Regions from separate parts of the Homo sapiens genome. Here all the other regions are linked to region 2. The links are contacts of gene promoters, found by promoter capture Hi-C in blood cells and fetal thymus (Javierre and others, 2016). All regions are on one chromosome and are shown on one strand. The core of a region is centred on a gene start or on the middle of the fragment in contact, and the rest is flanking DNA. Distances in the headings are between cores, read along the strand shown.

Region 1 (2,748 bases), core at 181-2,680, about 26 Mb before region 2:
AGCCCACTGTGGGTGGTTAGCCTAAGTCTGGTTCAGAGATGCCAGCTGGGCACTCTGGCAATGCTAGAGCACTAAGCAGAGAAGAGGCAGTGTTGGCTCTGGTTAGCCAGGGCATACAGGCTCTCCTCGTCCTGTCCTCCGCAGTGGCCACAGGCACCCAGCTGTTCCACTCTCTCTGAAGGCCGCCAGGCAGTCTCTCCGCAAAACCTCCATAGAGACTATCTTCAGTTTCAGGTCCTCTCCTCCGGGCTGGGTCCCAGGAAGACACCTTGGGCTGAGTTCAGGGTGACATTGGGCTCCGGCTGCAGGAAACGGGCCCTCCTTGCCAAGAGACCACCTTTCAGTCTCTGCTTCACAGGTTTGCCTTCAACTTTGCCAGCGAGTTCCCCTCTGACATGCACCACCTTGAAACACCTTCTTCAAGGGGCATGGAGAATGGGGCAGCTTGGGTCCCCAATCCTGAGCTCCTTCTCCAGCCTCCGGCCGTCACGCCTCCCTCCCTCTCCCCTAATTCCCAGTCAAGCCAAGGAAAGGCTGCACAGAAGGCCAGAGAATCACAAAGGGGAGTAGGGGTCATTTTTTCACCCATCTCGGATCACAGGGAGAAGCAAGTTGGGCAAATGACTGGAGAAAAAACAAAGGCAAGCCGAGTGCTGGGGAGAGATGTTCCCCTGAAGTGAGACGGGGCTGGACCGTAGGAGAAAGGGGAGAGGGAGGGCTGGCGGGGGCAACTGACAGCTGACAGCAGAGGCGCCGAGGCGGAGGCTGGAGGAACCAGGTGCGAATCTCGTGCTTCTCAGGGGGGAAAAGAAAAGGGGGGGGACACCTGCTCACAATGGATTTTCTCATCTGCTCTGAGGTTTTGGCACCCCCCAGGCTGGTATTCTCAGTATGGTATGGTCCAAATAATTAGCAGCACCGCCAGCTCCCAGGGCAGGCTTTGGGGGTCTGCACCAGCAGCAAAACAATAAACAGTGATGCCTGATGCTGCAGCCAAAGTTGCCGGGAAATAAGTGCGGGAATCGTCAGAGCTTGGAGAGGGATGGAGGAACCGAGAGAGAGGAGCGGAGGCAGCGGGGAGGGGGAAGGGAGGACAAAGGGTGGATGAATAATGCTTTTGCAAAGGGGAGAAAGCAACACGCAGCAGGAGGAGGAAATTTGCAAAGAGAAAAAAATTCATTTGGAGAAGGGCTGCCCCCTCACCTTGAGGTCTGCTCCAGAGATCTCCGTCTATCTCTCTCTCTCTCTCTCAATCTCTCAATCTCTCTGCTCACTCTTCTCTCTTCTCTTTCCGCTCCTTCAATTGGGAAGGGGATGGGGGTGGGTGGGGGGAGGGTAGTTGGGGGCTCAAGACTGGGGCTGCAAAGCTGGCCAGCTGCTGGGGGGGCAGAGGTTGTCTCTCGTTCTGTACCTCGGTCTGTGGGTGAATGTGGCTGTGTGTTGTGGAACTGCATCATAACACTGTGAGTCATCCATCCCCCCCACCCCCCCTCACCTCCCACGTCAGAGCAGGGCTGGGAGACACAGGAGGCGGGTCGGAAGGAAGGGAGGGGGTAGGCATCAAGGGACGGGGCTAGAGGAGTGGGGGCCGAGGGACAAGGCGGCGATGGTGGGCAAGGGGAGAGGCAGGTTGTTAAGGAGGAAGGCAGTGGGGCCAAGGAGATACGAAGAACCTGGGGGAAGGACAGGGCTGGGCAAGGATGCAGTGAGGGTGGCAGGGCTGGAGGAAAGGAGGTGGCAAGGCTGGTGAAGGAAGAGATGGATGCAGAGTGAGGGAGCACACACACATTTAAGATGATACACTTTCCCATTTCAGCTTGGACACCAGCCCTGAAGCAGGGAAAAGACAGATGTACTAATTGTCATGGATGGCAAACTGTGCCCCCAAACTTGTACCAAGCCTCAAAGCCTTGGTTTAATACTCCTGAAGGAGTAATAGACCCAATGTGACATTTTGCATGCAGGAACCCCTTAACAGCTACCTCCATATTATGCGTGCTTCATGAATGGAGACACCTACGTTATATGAAGTTCTCTATTGGGCTGTAAACTTCCTGAGACAGGCCTTCTGGGAAATTACTCTCTACATCCCAGGACTGCAATGTCCAGTGCAGACCCGTGCATTTAGATGTTTCCAAAATAGCAGTTGTTTCCGCGGCATTATGTTCTGCTGGCCTAGAGGTCTTAGTTCCAGAGGGAGGAATGCTGCCACCAAGAGACACAACAATGATTCCATTAAACTGGAAGTTAAGATTGCCACCTGGCCACTTTGGGCTCTTCTTACTTTTAAGCCAACTTGCTAAGAAGGGAGTTACAGTGTTTGACCCAGACTATCAAGATGAAATCAGTCTACTACTCCACAATGGCGGTAAGGAAGTATGCGTGGAATACAGGAGATCACGTAGGGCGTCTCTTAATATTACCATGCCCTGTGATTAAGGTCAATGGGAAACTGCAACAGCCCAATCCAGGCAGGATGACAAATGGCCCAGACCCTTCAGGAATGAAGGTTTGGGTCACTCCACCAGGTAAAAAAAACATAATCTGCTGAGGTGCTTGCTGAAGGCAAACGGAATTCAGAATGGGTAGTCAAAGAAGGTAGTCATCAATACGAACTATGACCATGTGACCAGCTGCAGAAAATGAGGACTGTAATTGTCATGAGTATTTCCTCCTCCTTTTGTTAGGAACATGTTTGTGCATATATACACTTGTATTAAGAAAATATCTTCATTTTATTTCCTTTCT
Region 2 (2,700 bases), core at 31-2,530:
ACAGCGTAGAAGTGTTTGGGTACCGAATGGCTCAGCGTACCTGGCACTGAAGATTCAAGAAGGTGAACAGAGATAAGAGGTGCCTATTCGCCTATTTTGTGGACAACCTTAAAACGGTTTAAAAACTGGGAGGGAAGTTAAAAAACTGGGGGTGAAAAACAACGACGACAACAAAAACCTAGCCCTAGAAACATTTCTCTGAATAAAGTTAGATGTCTTCAGGACACCCTGTTAACAGGGGTGCCAACAGGTTGGAAACTTGTGGGTTCCAGTATTCACTTATTTTCCCAAAGTCTACAATGTGACTGAAATGTACTGAGAATTCCAGTGAGAATAAGGCAGACGTGGCCTGAAATTTATGATGCTGTCTACCAAAAACCTGGGCTCGAGGCCAGCACCTAAAAAAACAAAATCAAAATTTGATCAGGCCACAAAAGAAAACAGGACACCCTCAAACACAGATTACCTTACGTTGGCTCCTGACGAGATTACTAGCCTCTTGTCACCAAAAAACGGAAACAACGGCTGAGAAAGAAGCCGGGCGCGAAGCCCAGGCCTTCAAAGGTTCGCTTTAAGAACAGAAAGGCAGTGCTTTCCTCAGTCCTCGCCCCTTGGGGCGAGCTGGGCAAGTCGGGGCAGCAGGCAGCGGCGTCGCCCAGCACAAGGCGTGAATCCGGGAGGAGGGCGTGGCACCTTCTCTTCCCGTTCGCTCGAGCAGGCGCGACCCCACGGGCATCGTCTCCCTAGAGAGCACTCAGGCATCTATGACACGACGCCTTGCCTCACCTCTCCGCAGGGCCGGCGAGAAATGCCCGCGGGGCCTTGAAACCCAACGATCTCCTCTGCCTTGGGAGAGAAAGAGCCGCCAAGCCTGGCGACTATTCATGTCCTCAGAGTTTTCCGGTGGGAGGGAGGCGGAAGACGGGGTAAATCTCGCACAGGCTTTCGGGCAAGGTAGTTCTGGCACCACAGGAATGCTGGGAATTGTAGTTTTCGCTCTGTCACAAGCTCACCTCCCAGCGCAGGCGCCACCGTGGTCCCACGAAACTGGGTCTCTTCACAGACAGACCCACAGTTCGCGAGCATGGCTCAGCGCTGCCCCGCTTCTCCCAGCGCCCCTTCCCGACCTTTGAACGCCTTCACCGCCCTAGGAAAGCGAGATCTTGTCAGAGAACCTTCCGGCGCCTGTTTCCTGGCAGTGGGGCATAGTCCAACAGCTGGCTCCCCCAAGATAGCCAGCGGCCATTACGCGCTTGGGTCGGGGGAGATGGAGTCGCATTTAGCCGCACAGCAGCCTGGAACCTGAAGTTTTCGGCCGCTGAGCGTTCTGGGTGATTGCGTAGTGCGAGGGCCAACGAAACCTTCTGGGAAGTGTAGTCCAGCAAGCCGCTCACTTTTCGTGAGGCGTCACATCCTGCTGCTTCACCCTCTGGTGCACGGGAGGACCAACTATTTCAGTCGGTATGTCCTTTCTTTAGGGAAGCCGAATTCCTCCGTTTCTAGGAGAAATTCCTTGAATTTTCACCATTTATCCTTCTCAGACCTCAGTTACTCAAGACTGCTCCGCATAGTAAAATGCTGAAAGCAACAATGCACAGTAGTTGTATTAAAATGCACTAATACTCATGAATATTCTCTGTAAGTTGTAAAATGGCACACAGTTGTGCGGTGTTAGTGGCTTACTCTCTCAAGATTCTAAACAATTACGGCTAGGTTTCTATCTATATGTATTCAAAGCTTTGTGAGAGTCAACTAAGTAACAAACACCATTTCTAAGGCCCGAAGCACATTGAAAGAACAAAACTTGATTCCCGCCAACAACTGCTTTAACAGACAATTCATGAAGAGGAAATATAAATTGCTATTTAAAACACTGGGATGGCTGGGCGTGGTGGCTCATGCCTGTAATTCCAGCACTTTGGGAGGCCGAGGCGGGCAGATCACCTGAGGTCGGGAGTTCGAGACCAACCTGACCAACGTGGAGAAACCCTGTCTATATTAAAAATACAAAATTAGCCGGGCGTGGTGGCACATGCCTGTAATCCCAGCTACTCAGGAGGCTGAGGTAGGAGAATCGCTTGAATCCTGGAGGCGGAGGTTGCAGTGAGTCGAGATCACACCATTGCACTCCAGCCTGGGCGACAGAGTGAGACTCGATCTAAAAAAAAAAAAAAAAAATTGGGAAAAAAGTTTGATCTTACCAGTTTCAAAATACAAAACGCAAAACCTTAGGGTATATCGAGGTTAGGGGTCCCAATGATCCCAACAGGATGTAAGCATAGTACTCAACAGGTGCTTTTTCAACCCATGCCCCTCTGTCCGTCTCCCCCTTTCCTCATCTAATGATCCTCAATGCCTGTTGTTTCCACGTTTACCATCATATATTCAATGTTTAGCTCCTACTTATAAGTGAGAACATGTGTATTTGGTTTTCTGTTCTTGGCATTAGGTTGCATAGGATAATGGCTCCAGTTCCATCCATGTTGCTACAAAGAGTATAATTTCCTTATTTTTATGGCTGCATTATATTCCATGGTGTATATGTACCACATTTTCTTTATCCAGTCCACTGTTGATGGGCACTTAGGTTGATTTCATGTCCTTGCTATCGTGAATGGCACTACAATGAACATACGGTTGCATGTGTCTTTTTTTTTTTTTTTTTTTTTTTGGCTTGAGGCAGGGTTTTGCTGCGTCACT
Region 3 (2,700 bases), core at 146-2,645, about 26 Mb before region 2:
TCCAACACCCCTCCCCTAACGCTGACCCTGCCCCAGGTGTTTCAAAGATGGGAGAGGGTATGAAGACAGTAGAGAAACCCAGTACTGTCAACCCATTGGTCAGTTAACCACCACGGAAGACTGCCCACTGTGGGTGGGTGAATAACTGTGCAGAGCCAGGCCAAGTGTGGTGGGGGGAGGGGCACATGATAGAAAAAATAAAATTAAAACACAAGATTGTTTCCTTGTCCTTGAACATTATTACTAGGAACATAGTGTGGGTGGTTGGAGATGGAAATTAATTGGCTCAGAACCAAAAAAATCCTTTCACCTGGGGTTCTGATGGGCCCCTCTGCGGTATGAGGGGCTGCAGCAATGAAGGCGGGCTCAGAGTCCCCAGGTGCGGAGGTGGCCACAGCAACTCAGAGACCCCAGCCAGGGGCCCCAGGTGACCAAGGCCACCAAGGCTGTGGCCAGAAGCTGCGATTCGCAGCGGTTCTGAGCACTCCCCACCCTCAAGAGACCAGGGGGTAGAGGGTAGCAGGGTAGAAACGAGCTGACCCCTGGCAGATAAGGCCTCCAGAAGGGCTGGGCAGCTCCAGCCCCGGAGGGGACTCGGCGCAGGCGGGGTCGCCCCTATGGACCCCAGGATCTCCAGCCGGATCCGAGGCTAGAGAGGTCGGCAGGGACAGCACGTAAACTGCTGGAAAGAGGGAGGGCCAACGGGAAGATGGAACAGCCCCGGGCAATGGGCTGTCTGGAGGGGCCCAGTGGGGAGCTCTGGACACAGAAGGGACGGCGGCAGCCGAAGAGGAGGAGGAGGAGGGGGCTGCGGTGGCGGCAGAAGCGGAGGACCTGTGAGCGGGCTGTGAAGCAGCCGGCGAACAGACGGTGGGCTGCAGACGTCGATCAGGTGGGGGCGGACTGGGGTGGCTGGGGGCGTGCCGAAGGAGCCGGGGGAGGGGGCTAGCGCGGCCCGGAGGAAGGGGAGGCAGGGGTCCCTCCAGCGGCTCTGCCCGCCCCCGGCCCCGCCCCAAGCCCTCGCCCCCTCCCCCCTTTCTTCTGGCTCTGCCAGCACGAGCTCCAAGCCATGCGCCCTCCGCCTCCGCGCACACGCGCCACCTTCCCCCGGGCCTCCAGCGTCCCCAGCGCCCTCGGCCCCTGCAAACTTTCCTGGTGACCCCCCGACCACCACCACCTCAACCCGAGGTGTCGGCTGGAAAGCACCCACTCCTTCCATGCCCCTCCCCCGCCCCATCCCGGACCCCGCCCCCTCCTTCGCCCGACCGCCCCCGCGCACTCACGCGCTCGCCCGGGGTCCGGCTCCGCTCGGCTCGGGGCCCCGATGCCAGTCCCCGCCGCCGCCGCCGCTGCTACCGCCGCCGCCGCCGCCGTCACCGCGGGACGAAGCCACTGCGAGCCCCGGCGGGGCCCCGCCCCAACTCCGCCCAGGTCCACGCCCCCAGGGCGCTTCATGAATATGCATGAGCCGGTTGGAACCCGGGAGTGGGAAGCCCGTGCAGAATTCGTCCCACCGTCGGCAAACAGGCGCGGCCCAGCACTCAATTATTCATGAGGCTTGCAGATGAGGGGCCCGCCCCAGTCTCAGACCGGGGCGAAACTGACGCAATTCAGCCGGGAGCGCTCGGGTAAAATGGCCACCGAGACGACTGCCTAGAGAAACTGCCTTGGCGGCCCCTCCCGGGCTCCGCCGCCTGCACAGAGCACAGTATCATCGAGCTACGCCGGCAAGAAGGTAGCCGCCGGCTGACTGAAGCGGCTTCCTGATACAACCACCTGAGTGCTGAGAACGCGCGCAACGTGGCCACCCTCCTGTGTCAATTCAGATTTAGAGCCACCGTGAAGAAGTCTGGCAGCTCTGCATTCCTCATTAGTGACCTTTATCTCCTTTTAGGCCCCTTCTCAGACATGGGTTCCTCCCTACACTGAAGTTTGTATACCCCCTTCTTCCCGTAAGAACAAAAGCTTCACATATAACTCCGTACTTTGTTGCACCACCACCAGGCTGCAACCACCACCACTCTACGCACACGCTCATCCTCCCCGACTCTCCAGGCTCAGGTTTCCACTCCCCCGGCTGCGGGAAGGACAGTCAATCCTGATTTCATTATCGAAAGCCTTGGAAGACCCTTGACTCATAGGTAAGGATGCAGCCAAGAGCTGCCTCCCCCTAGCTTGGTTGGCTAATGGAGTGTAACTGGGAGAAACTTCCTAATCAGATCAGCTCTCATTTCTAGACTCTCAGGTGGCCCATCCGGGCAGAGGCGGGTGAAAACCAATGCTCGTCCAGCCGGGAACAGAACAGGATGTACCTCGAGACTTGCTTCCCGGCTGGCCAGGAAGGCCCTGCCCAGTCTGACCAGAGCAGTAAACACCACCAATAAAAGTGGGAGCAACACACCAAGGCTACAAAGAAAGCATGAGGACATGGTTTCCAAAGTCAGTTCCCTTTATTAAATCATTTTCACAGACCAGAAATACAAAATGAAAGTAGAAATAGGCCCCAGGTAGGAGCTACAGGCCTGGCCTCACATGACCCCTGCTCCAGCAACTTGAACAGGACAAGCAGCAGCTACATCCTTAAGGTCGGGAAAGTAAGATGAGGATTTGGATCCTGCATTGCCCTGCCTCCCACCCTATCTCTCCCCAAATTATAAACAGCCATCCTTGGGAAGCAGCAGAGTTAAGACGTCTCCCCAC
Region 4 (2,761 bases), core at 260-2,759, about 40 Mb before region 2:
CCTCATTTTTCCTAAAACAGGATGTTCTGCAACACTTGTACTCAGCAATCTCAGTTACACCCAGGGTATAAAACCCAAAGTGTTTTTGGAGTCCCTCATCTGTGCTGCAACATGGGGTATGTGCAGATGAGGCTCCATCTGCCCTAAGCAGCTTTCCTGAGCCATGGGATCAGCTAACCATGGATCCTCCATTTCTGTGTATCTTTGCTGCCTATTTGTAAAAAATTTGCTTTGCCTGACTTACTGTTTGAGTGTTCTGCCTCACCAGATTAGAACTAAGAACTATTGCAAGAACCACTCAAGAGTTTGGCTGTTCAAAGTTTATAAAATAATATCACAAAGCAGCATAGTATTGTCATATTACTGACAGAATTCAGAGGTGGCAAACAAGTTGACAGACATTTTTGCAGGCTAGGATTTCAACTGTATCTTAAATAGATTTGAGAAAGCAGCATGAGGAAAGGATTTTAGGCAGGGAACAGGAGCAAAAGTATGTCTAAATTAGTCTGTGATACTTAAAACAGTTCAGTGAAAGACTAGAAGAATGGTACTTGGCAGTCAAGATCTGTGGTAGGCAAAATTCTAAGATGATACCCAATGGTCCTTGCCCGCATAAAATCTCCCCTACGTATATTAAAACATCATGTTGTACACTAAATATATACAATTTTGTCCATTTCACCTTAATAGAGTAGAAAAGGGGGAAATTTCCTAACTTGACTATGTGGGTAAAACATGAATACGATATCACTCCTGTGATCATAGGTTTGGATGTGGTTAGGGCCGCCAAAACTCATGTTGAAATTTGGTACCCAATGTGGCAGTGTTGGGAGATGGGGCCTAGTGGAAGGTTTCTGGGTCATGGGGGTGGATCTGTCATGAACAGATTAATGCCCTCACGGTGGTGGGGGGGGAGGTGAGTTCTTGCTCTCTCAGGAATGAATTAGTTCTCGAGTGTGGGTTGTTAAAAGAGTTTGGCTTTCTTGATTTGTCTCTCTTGCTGCTTCTCTCAACATGTGATCTCTATGCACACCCACTCCCCTTCTGCTTTCCTCCCTAAGTGGAAGCAGCGTGAGGCCCTTACCAGATGCGGCTGCCCAATCTTGGACTTTTCAGCCACCAGAATCATAAGCCAATTAAACCTCTTTTCTTTATGAATTGCCCAGCTTTAGGTATTCTGTTATAACAACACAAAATGGACTAAGATAATGTTATATGGCAAACGAAATTTTTGCAGATGGCATTAAAGTTACTAATCAGTTGAATAAAAAGGGATATTATTCAGATAGACCTTATCAACTCACATGAGCCCTTTAAGTCTAGGCTTAGAGATAGAGGAATTCAAGAGATTTCAGCAGTGGAAATATTCTGCTTGCCTTCAAGGAATAACTGCCATTGTGAGAGCCACATGGCAGAAAACTGTGGGTAGCCTCAATGTTAATGGCCACAATCAGCAGCCAGTAAGAAAATGGAGCCCTCAGTCCTACATTGGCAATAAATTGAATTCTGCCAAGGACTTGAAGAATGAGCTTGACTGAGGAACCCCAAGCCTCAGATGAGATTGCAGCCTTGATATGAGCCTTGTGACACTGAGCAGAGAACTCAGTCACACCACAGCAGAAGACTTTTGCCCCAAGGAAACTGTCAGATAATGTGTTAAGCTAAGTTTGTGGCAATTGTTACACAGCATTAGAAAACTAATACAGGATCCCAAAAGATAAGAGTTATCATCTACAGAAAATAGGTGGTATAATAAAGCTATAGAAGCTATAATTCCACCCCTTTAGAGGTTAACTTGTGAAGGTCAAAGAAATTGCTGATAGCAAAATATGTGATGCTGGGGCCTTTCTCAAATTCCTCACTAACATTCATTCATTCTCAGGCTCTCAGATCTAGAGTCAGGTGGATCTGAGTCCAAACCTGAGCTCTACCACTTAGCAATATGATCTTGGCCAACTTACTTAACTAGCCAGAGCTTGGTAAGTTGTGACGATTAATAGGAACTATGCATGTACAGGACCCAGTACGTATTAAACACTCAAGAAATGTTAGATGATGATGATGTCAGCTTTATACACAAGAAATAGGGTTGACCTCTATGCCCCAAAAATAAGATGCTGAGACAAAAGGGATTCCATCATTTGCCACTTCTCTATTTTAAAATTCTGAAACACTCCCTATTGCCTATGTCTAAACTCCAAGAAACTCTTAAAACATGCCACTGACTTCACCTTTTCGTTTCTTGAGACGGATTCTCGCTCTGTCACTTAGGCTGGAGTGCAGTGGTGTGATCTCGGCTCACTGCAATCCCCGCCTCCCGTGTTCAAGCAATTCTCTGCCTCAGCCTCCCAAGTAGCTGGAATTACAGGTGCCCGCCACCATGCCCGGCTGATTTTTGTATTTTTAGTAGAGGCGGGGTTTCACCATCTTGGCCAGGCCAGTCTTGAACTCCTGACCTCAGTGATCCATCCACCTCGGCCTCCCAAAGTGCTGGGATTACAGGCGTGAGCCACCGCGCCCGGCCAACTTCACCTTTTCACTTATTATTCTGCCTGAACCAGCACCTGAGCTCCAAACCTTTTTTTCACCTGGTTGGTTGCTCTCTCCTGTACATATGCATTCATACACCCCCATTATCCTGTATTTTAATTGTTAACCTGCCAATAATATCTCACTATATTGCACACTGCCCAATGGTTACATTTCCATACCCAGAGACTATCAGAGTACCAGGCAAAAAGCAAATAAGCCATATATTTTT
Region 5 (2,700 bases), core at 71-2,570, about 30 Mb after region 2:
TCGGTGCCGCGGGGTACCCCGGAATCCCCCCTGGGAGCTGGTCCTGCACTGGCCTTCAGAGCCGAGCAGAGGACGCTGCTTTGGGCCCCAGAGCATGGGAAGGTCTTGGCTGCGGTCTGGGACGGCTGCGGTCTGGGACCTGCATGGAGGGCCCGGGACTTGCGGACGCCTGGGAGCGGTTGCTGGGCAACAGTGCGTGCGGCCTGGCCTCTTTGCGCCCGGCGGGCAGCGCGCGTCTGGGGCAGGCTCCGCGCGGGGCTCGGGCACAGGTCCCCGCTGCCGCAGCCCTACCGAGTGAAGCACTGAGCGCGGCGCCGCTTCGCCATCACCTGGCTCTGGCCCTCTCACCCTAGCGTAGGGGGGCACTGGCCAGGCAGTGAGGACCCTGAGATCCATGCCCTGGGAGACAGAGGTTGTCTCCTGTCCATGCACCCGCGCGCCTGCCTTCTAACCTTCATACCGTTGGGCAGATTAATTCACTGGACTAGGCCTCTGTTCCGTGGGAGTTGAAAAGATTTGACCTGGAAGAAACCCTAGCGATTATTCAGTTAAGCCGCAACCCCACCCCCTGTTTTATATAGGTAAGGGTGCTTCACGGTGAGGACTCGTCGCGTGCCTGGTGCTTTACATCAGTCCCCAGAATAGTCCTCGTAGTTTCTCTCTTACTGTTCCCATAGTATGGGTGAGGACTCTGAGGCTCGGAGAGGTTGTGAATTTAGCCAGAATCACACAGCTTGTAACTGGTGGAGATGAGGACACTGAGACTCGATTAAATCACTCGTAGTTTGTTCGTGGCAGATTACGTGTTAGAAGCGTGTTACACTACTATGAAACCTGGCCATAAATGAGAATCACCTGGAAAGTGTTTAAAATCTATATTCGTGTCTGGGCAATGTCCCGGGTTTACTGACTTGAAATCTCGGGCTACGGCTGAGGAAGCTGTATATTTAACAATCTTCCCGATGATTTTTATGATCTGTGGATGAACCACTGAGTACTGCTGGGTACACCACGGGGCCTTCTCGCACAAAAACAACTGTAAAATAATATCTGAGGTACCTAGAGCAGAAGAGACGCTGGTGAGCATGGTAACATTATGTTCTAATCCCTTCAGTCAATTTGTACCCTTTCTTCACTCTTCAGAAACAAGCCAAAGGCAGATTTTAAACAAGTATGGACATTTAGATGCAAATTGCCCCAAGTTTGTTACCTGTCACACATCCACATTTAAGCTTCTGACTAGACCAGCCTGTCATGATCAAAGTCAGGTGTTAGTGTATTTCTCTATCCTTGGCAACCTGTCATCTGCTCTCTTCTCATCTCCATGCCAGGTCCCTAAATCGCCGGGGTTGATGTTGGCTTTGGAAGAACTATTTGCAGAGCGTTTTCTGCACTGGAAGGAGGGCTGGAAGCTTTCTGGAAGCATTGCCGCACGTAAATGAGTGCCTCTTGGCCTAAAACAGCAGTTGGAATGAAAGGGATCACCCTGCTGTTATTCATTGACATAAACAAAACTGTCATAAAAATAATCACTTGGCTCTTAGTTTTAGAAGGCTAATAAGCCTGACCGTTCTGTTTAGTGCTTTATTATTATTAATTTCACCATTATGCTGCATCCCTTAGGGATTCCGGTTCACAATGGATGCTGATAAAGAGAAAGATTTGCAGAAATTTCTTAAAAATGTGGATGAAATCTGTAAGTACTAGTAAATCATAAATTAATTTCTGCTTTAGAGAAGTGGAGTAGATAAATGATTGCTCTAAGTTCCTGGGTGGCTTGACAGGTTTATAACTCTTAGGAAAAAAATGTAATTGAAATTAAAGAGAAGGGTATTGAGAAACAAGTTATAGCCTCAGGGCTGTATTTTCTGGCTGTTAATTGGTATCAGAGAAACTGTTAACATTCTGATAGGAATTCAGGCTGACGGTTTTCTTCCATATTTTGTATCCTTCTATGTGGAATCCAGTCAAAACCAGCTGCTGTTTCCCCATTGACAATGAACCCAGCTGTTCCCTTCAAGGGTCAAGAACCTCATTGATCAGTGTGAGATTCCTCCCGTTTTAGAGTAGAGCCATTTCTGTTTTAGAGCTGCAGAGGCAAAATCAAATGGCTTTCCTTTAGGATCCATCAAATTACATGGATGGTTTATGATCATCATTCCCTTCTCTCTCTCTAGACAAGAAAGTCCTTTCCCAAGTTCAGGCAGGTTGGATCTCAAAGAAATGTACTCTGATCCCACAGATCACATTCAGGAATTTCCAAACCTGTCAGTCCCTGTTCAGGGAGCTTGCTTGAGTATAGAAACAAACAAACCAACAAGCAAACAGACCTTACATAGTAAATACAGGCAATATGCTGAAATTGCTGCTTGTAGCAGATTGTATGGGTTCAAGGAATAAAGTGGTTTTAAAGCTAGCTTGGGTGACATCGTAAATGATACATGAATAATGCTTATCCCTGAATGCTGTTCCATGGAGCTCTGGCCTTGGCCCACTGCCACCTTTCTCTTCAGCTGGTCTAAACATGTAGCTTTACCTGCCACCTGTTTGTTCATGACCCCCACATCTACATGGACACTTAGCCTTCTTTTCTGAGCCTCTGCCTCTATGGTACTGTCATACCTACTGTATCCCACAAATAAACTTAAATGTGTCCAAAATTGAGGCATCATCTCTTTCCCTCCCCTTTGCCCTCCCCCT
Region 6 (2,711 bases), core at 157-2,656, about 51 Mb after region 2:
GTGCTAGCCACATAAAAAACAGTCAATAGATGGTATTTATTATTTTTGCTATGGATGAGTGTTAAAATAATAGATATGTAAAATGTAAAATGCTACAGAGCTTAATAGGGAATAGTACTGGGGGAGGAGGGAGAGGAATAAGATGATTCTTCAATTGGACCTGAATGTAAGAGTTTTGCCAGGCAAATAAATGCAGAAAAGTGCCTCCCAGCAAGCACAGTGTAACAAAGCACACAAAGGGAAAGAAATTAAAGTGTTTCTAAATGAACAAAATTGTTACAGTGTTTGCTTGTGGGTATTAGTATCTGTTCAGCAGTTATTATGTGGCAAGTACAAATTTATCTTTACAAAAACCCCTGTGAGGTAGATATTGTACTCCCCATTTGACAGATCAGAAAACAGGGGTTTAGCAAGGATAAACAACCTGCACGGTAATACATGGATGCTATGGGGTAGAGCCAAGGGAACAATCCAAGTGTGTCCGACTCCAAAGGTTATGCTCTTGGAAAATCAAACTGGAGAGAATGGCAGCTCTTATAAAGCATGCCAAGGATGTGGTCATTTATTTAGGAAACAAAGGGGAAACATTAAAGGTGTACAGGCTTGACACATTCAAAGCTGTGTTTTCAAAAGTCGTTCTGCAAAAGTGTGGGGGATGGGCTGGCACAGTTAACATCAGAAAGCAGCTAAAATACTCCTGCAATTGCTCGAGGCTATGATGAAGGCAGCAGCATCAGGAATGGAGCGGGGCTGCCCTGAGACACCTCAGAGGCAGGACAGTGGTAGTGGGCATGAAAGGGGAAGCAGAAATGCCATGACTCCTGGGTTGGTGGCTTGGATGGTGCCATTAGCAGGCTTTGGGAATCCCATTTTCACTCATGTGACGTTTGATGATGTCTGCATGTGAGACATCCAGTGGAACCTATGAACATGAAGTTCAAGAAATAAGTCTGGCGGAAGAAAGAGATTTGCAATTTAAAACCATCTTAATAGGTAAGAATAGATAGGTGCACGAAGACACGCACAGGAAGAAGGGGAAGGCCGAGAAAACAGATGCACAGGCGCTAGAAGAGACTGGCCAACATTCGCTTATTCTAAGGGTGGCCTGGCCGGCTTGAGCCCCCACGGGAAACCTGGCTAGCCGCAATCCTGGCGTGGCACGGCCCTGGGGACCCCAGGCACCGCCGACAGCCGGGCGCCCCCACCCCGCCCCCACCGGCACCCCGGCCCGGGCTTAGGCATCGTCGGGGACGCATAGGACCCTCGCCCTGGCCCCCGGGCCTCCCGGCTGCATCTGCTCACCGAGTCTAAGATCCAGCGGACACCAGGGCTGCAGGCCGCTACCAAGGCCCCGCAACGCCACCATGATCCCAGGGCACCGGCTCGCCGCCGCCGTGCTCAACTTTCAAAGCTCGCTCCCGCGCGCGCGCCGAGTCGTTCCTGTGGACCAATCACAACGTACAGAATTTCCCACTGGCCAACCACCGCGCCGAGCCGTTTCCATTCGCTCAACCAATCACCGGCGTCGTCCGCCGCACGCTCAGAGAACTGGGCGGGCCGAAAAGTGGAAGCCAAACAAGGCTCCTGCGGGTGTTCCGCTAATTCGTTCGAGAAGGAGCCAGGGCCTGAGTTAAACCCTAACAGCGTTTTTCCCGCCTCGTTTTTCTTCAATGGGGGAAAATCTAAAGGGTATCTGAGATAGGGTACTTCCGGTAGTAACTGTCACCTTTGCCCTCGTCAGGCGACATTTCGCGTGCGTGTCAAAGGGCTGCCTTTCCCGTCAGCACTCGAACAGCGTAATATCCGAATGTGAAAGGCAGCCCAACGTGTATCGAGCTAAAGTAATAAGGGAAAAGTAGCCGAAAGCACTCCGAGAAGACAAGACAACTGCAGTTCTGTAGGGACTGCGCGGCACGCGTGGGCCCAGAGCCTGTCCCAGCGAGGTAGCAGCTGCCATGCCGACCGCTGGAGCGCCGGCCGCGCTCTCCCTGCGCATGCGCAGCGAGCTCTCCTCCGGGCTGCCGGGAGTCCCAGGAGCGTTAGGGGGTGCGCCTGCGCGCCGCTGCTCCAGCGCATCCGGGCTGGAGCTCGCCCGCCCCCTCCCCCGCCCGGAGCCGCCGAAGCGCCTCGGTGCGTTGCACCGCCGGAGGCTGGGCAGCTCGCAGCGCTGCTCGGCGCTGGACCCCACCCGGCAGGCGCAGGCCACCCACACCCGGCTCTGTGCGGCTGCCCCCCGCAGCATTGCACGGCCGACCCTCGCCCGCCCACTGCCACCGGCCGCGGGACTGGCTGGGACTGGCTCGGCCGAGGGCACTGCTCCTCGGTGCATTGCTGCTCGGGCGCCGCAGCCCGCAGCCGCCAGCCTCCCCCGGCCGTGCCCCTCCCCCGTGGAGCCGGCTGTCCGTCGGCGCCCACTGCCCGGCGGCAGCGGCGGAGCCAGGCAGCCCCGCGGCGGCCGAGCGCGCTCGCGCATCGGGCCCTCTGGCCTTCTTTACCTAGGGCAGCCCGCGCCCCGGTGCGAGGGAGCGGTCCTTACCGAGACCCGCCCGGCCCGGCGGTGCGATGAGCTTCTTCGGCTTCGGGCAGAGCGTGGAGGTGGAAATCCTTCTGAACGATGCAGAGAGTAGGAAGCGGGCCGAGCACAAGACGGAGGACGGGAAGAAGGAGAAATATTTCCTCTTCTACGACGGGGAGACGGTCTCCGGGAAGGT

The links. The method cuts DNA at HindIII sites, captures the fragments that hold promoters and counts their contacts. A CHiCAGO score of 5 or more calls a contact.
Region 1: a contact is called between the fragment with the promoter of YPEL4 here and the fragment with the promoter of CCDC90B in region 2, in 2 of 17 cell types (fetal thymus and naive CD8 T cells). The highest score is 9.4, in fetal thymus.
Region 3: the fragment with the promoter of TNKS1BP1 here is called in contact with the fragment with the promoter of CCDC90B in region 2 in 4 of 17 cell types (total CD4 T cells, total CD8 T cells, naive CD8 T cells and 1 more); the score reaches 10.3 in total CD4 T cells.
Region 4: a contact is called between a fragment that was not itself captured here and the fragment with the promoter of CCDC90B in region 2, in 2 of 17 cell types (total CD4 T cells and activated CD4 T cells). The highest score is 9.8, in total CD4 T cells.
Region 5: a contact is called between a fragment that was not itself captured here and the fragment with the promoter of CCDC90B in region 2, in 1 of 17 cell types (naive CD8 T cells). The highest score is 9.8, in naive CD8 T cells.
Region 6: a contact is called between the fragment with the promoter of NCAPD3 here and the fragment with the promoter of CCDC90B in region 2, in 1 of 17 cell types (activated CD4 T cells). The highest score is 7.5, in activated CD4 T cells.

Annotation. Positions count from the first base shown.
Region 1 is chr11:57,648,482-57,651,229 of GRCh38, forward strand. It overlaps YPEL4 (yippee like 4), which reads right to left and starts at 1,431. Exons shown (of 5, transcript NM_145008.3): 1 at 1,204-1,431. MIR130AHG (MIR130A host gene) reads left to right here. Exons shown (of 2, transcript NR_186232.1): 2 at 1,817-2,748. The HindIII fragment of the contact is 14,007 bases long and covers 1-2,748 here.
Region 2 is chr11:83,285,087-83,287,786 of GRCh38, forward strand. It overlaps CCDC90B (coiled-coil domain containing 90B), which reads right to left and starts at 1,281. Exons shown (of 9, transcript NM_021825.5): 1 at 787-1,281. The coding sequence starts at 886. CCDC90B-AS1 (CCDC90B antisense RNA 1) reads left to right here and starts at 1,034. Exons shown (of 3, transcript NR_186344.1): 1 at 1,034-1,461. RefSeq lists enhancers at 54-650, 539-618, 651-1,246, 669-1,318. The HindIII fragment of the contact is 4,800 bases long and covers 1-1,735 here.
Region 3 is chr11:57,323,557-57,326,256 of GRCh38, forward strand. TNKS1BP1 (tankyrase 1 binding protein 1) reads right to left here and starts at 1,396. Exons shown (of 12, transcript NM_033396.3): 1 at 1,284-1,396. It overlaps SSRP1 (structure specific recognition protein 1), which reads right to left. Exons shown (of 17, transcript NM_003146.3): 17 at 2,432-2,700. RefSeq lists a silencer at 1,200-1,479 and enhancers at 1,610-1,659, 1,689-2,562. The HindIII fragment of the contact is 11,807 bases long and covers 1-1,963 here.
Region 4 is chr11:43,354,957-43,357,717 of GRCh38, forward strand. No RefSeq gene overlaps it. Among named protein-coding and RNA genes, the nearest start is that of TTC17, 2.6 kb to the right of the region's middle. The HindIII fragment of the contact is 3,070 bases long and covers 1-2,761 here.
Region 5 is chr11:113,314,620-113,317,319 of GRCh38, forward strand. It overlaps TTC12 (tetratricopeptide repeat domain 12), which reads left to right. Exons shown (of 22, transcript NM_017868.4): 2 at 1,624-1,696. The coding sequence starts at 1,639. Among named protein-coding and RNA genes, the nearest start is that of TTC12, 1.4 kb to the left of the region's middle. RefSeq lists silencers at 1-24, 48-342, 235-334. The HindIII fragment of the contact is 180 bases long and covers 1,231-1,410 here.
Region 6 is chr11:134,222,561-134,225,271 of GRCh38, forward strand. It overlaps NCAPD3 (non-SMC condensin II complex subunit D3), which reads right to left and starts at 1,407. Exons shown (of 35, transcript NM_015261.3): 1 at 1,303-1,407. The coding sequence starts at 1,366. VPS26B (VPS26 retromer complex component B) reads left to right here and starts at 2,111. Exons shown (of 6, transcript NM_052875.5): 1 at 2,111-2,711. The coding sequence starts at 2,563. RefSeq lists enhancers at 1,848-1,897, 2,688-2,711 and a silencer at 2,018-2,487. The HindIII fragment of the contact is 9,666 bases long and covers 1-2,711 here.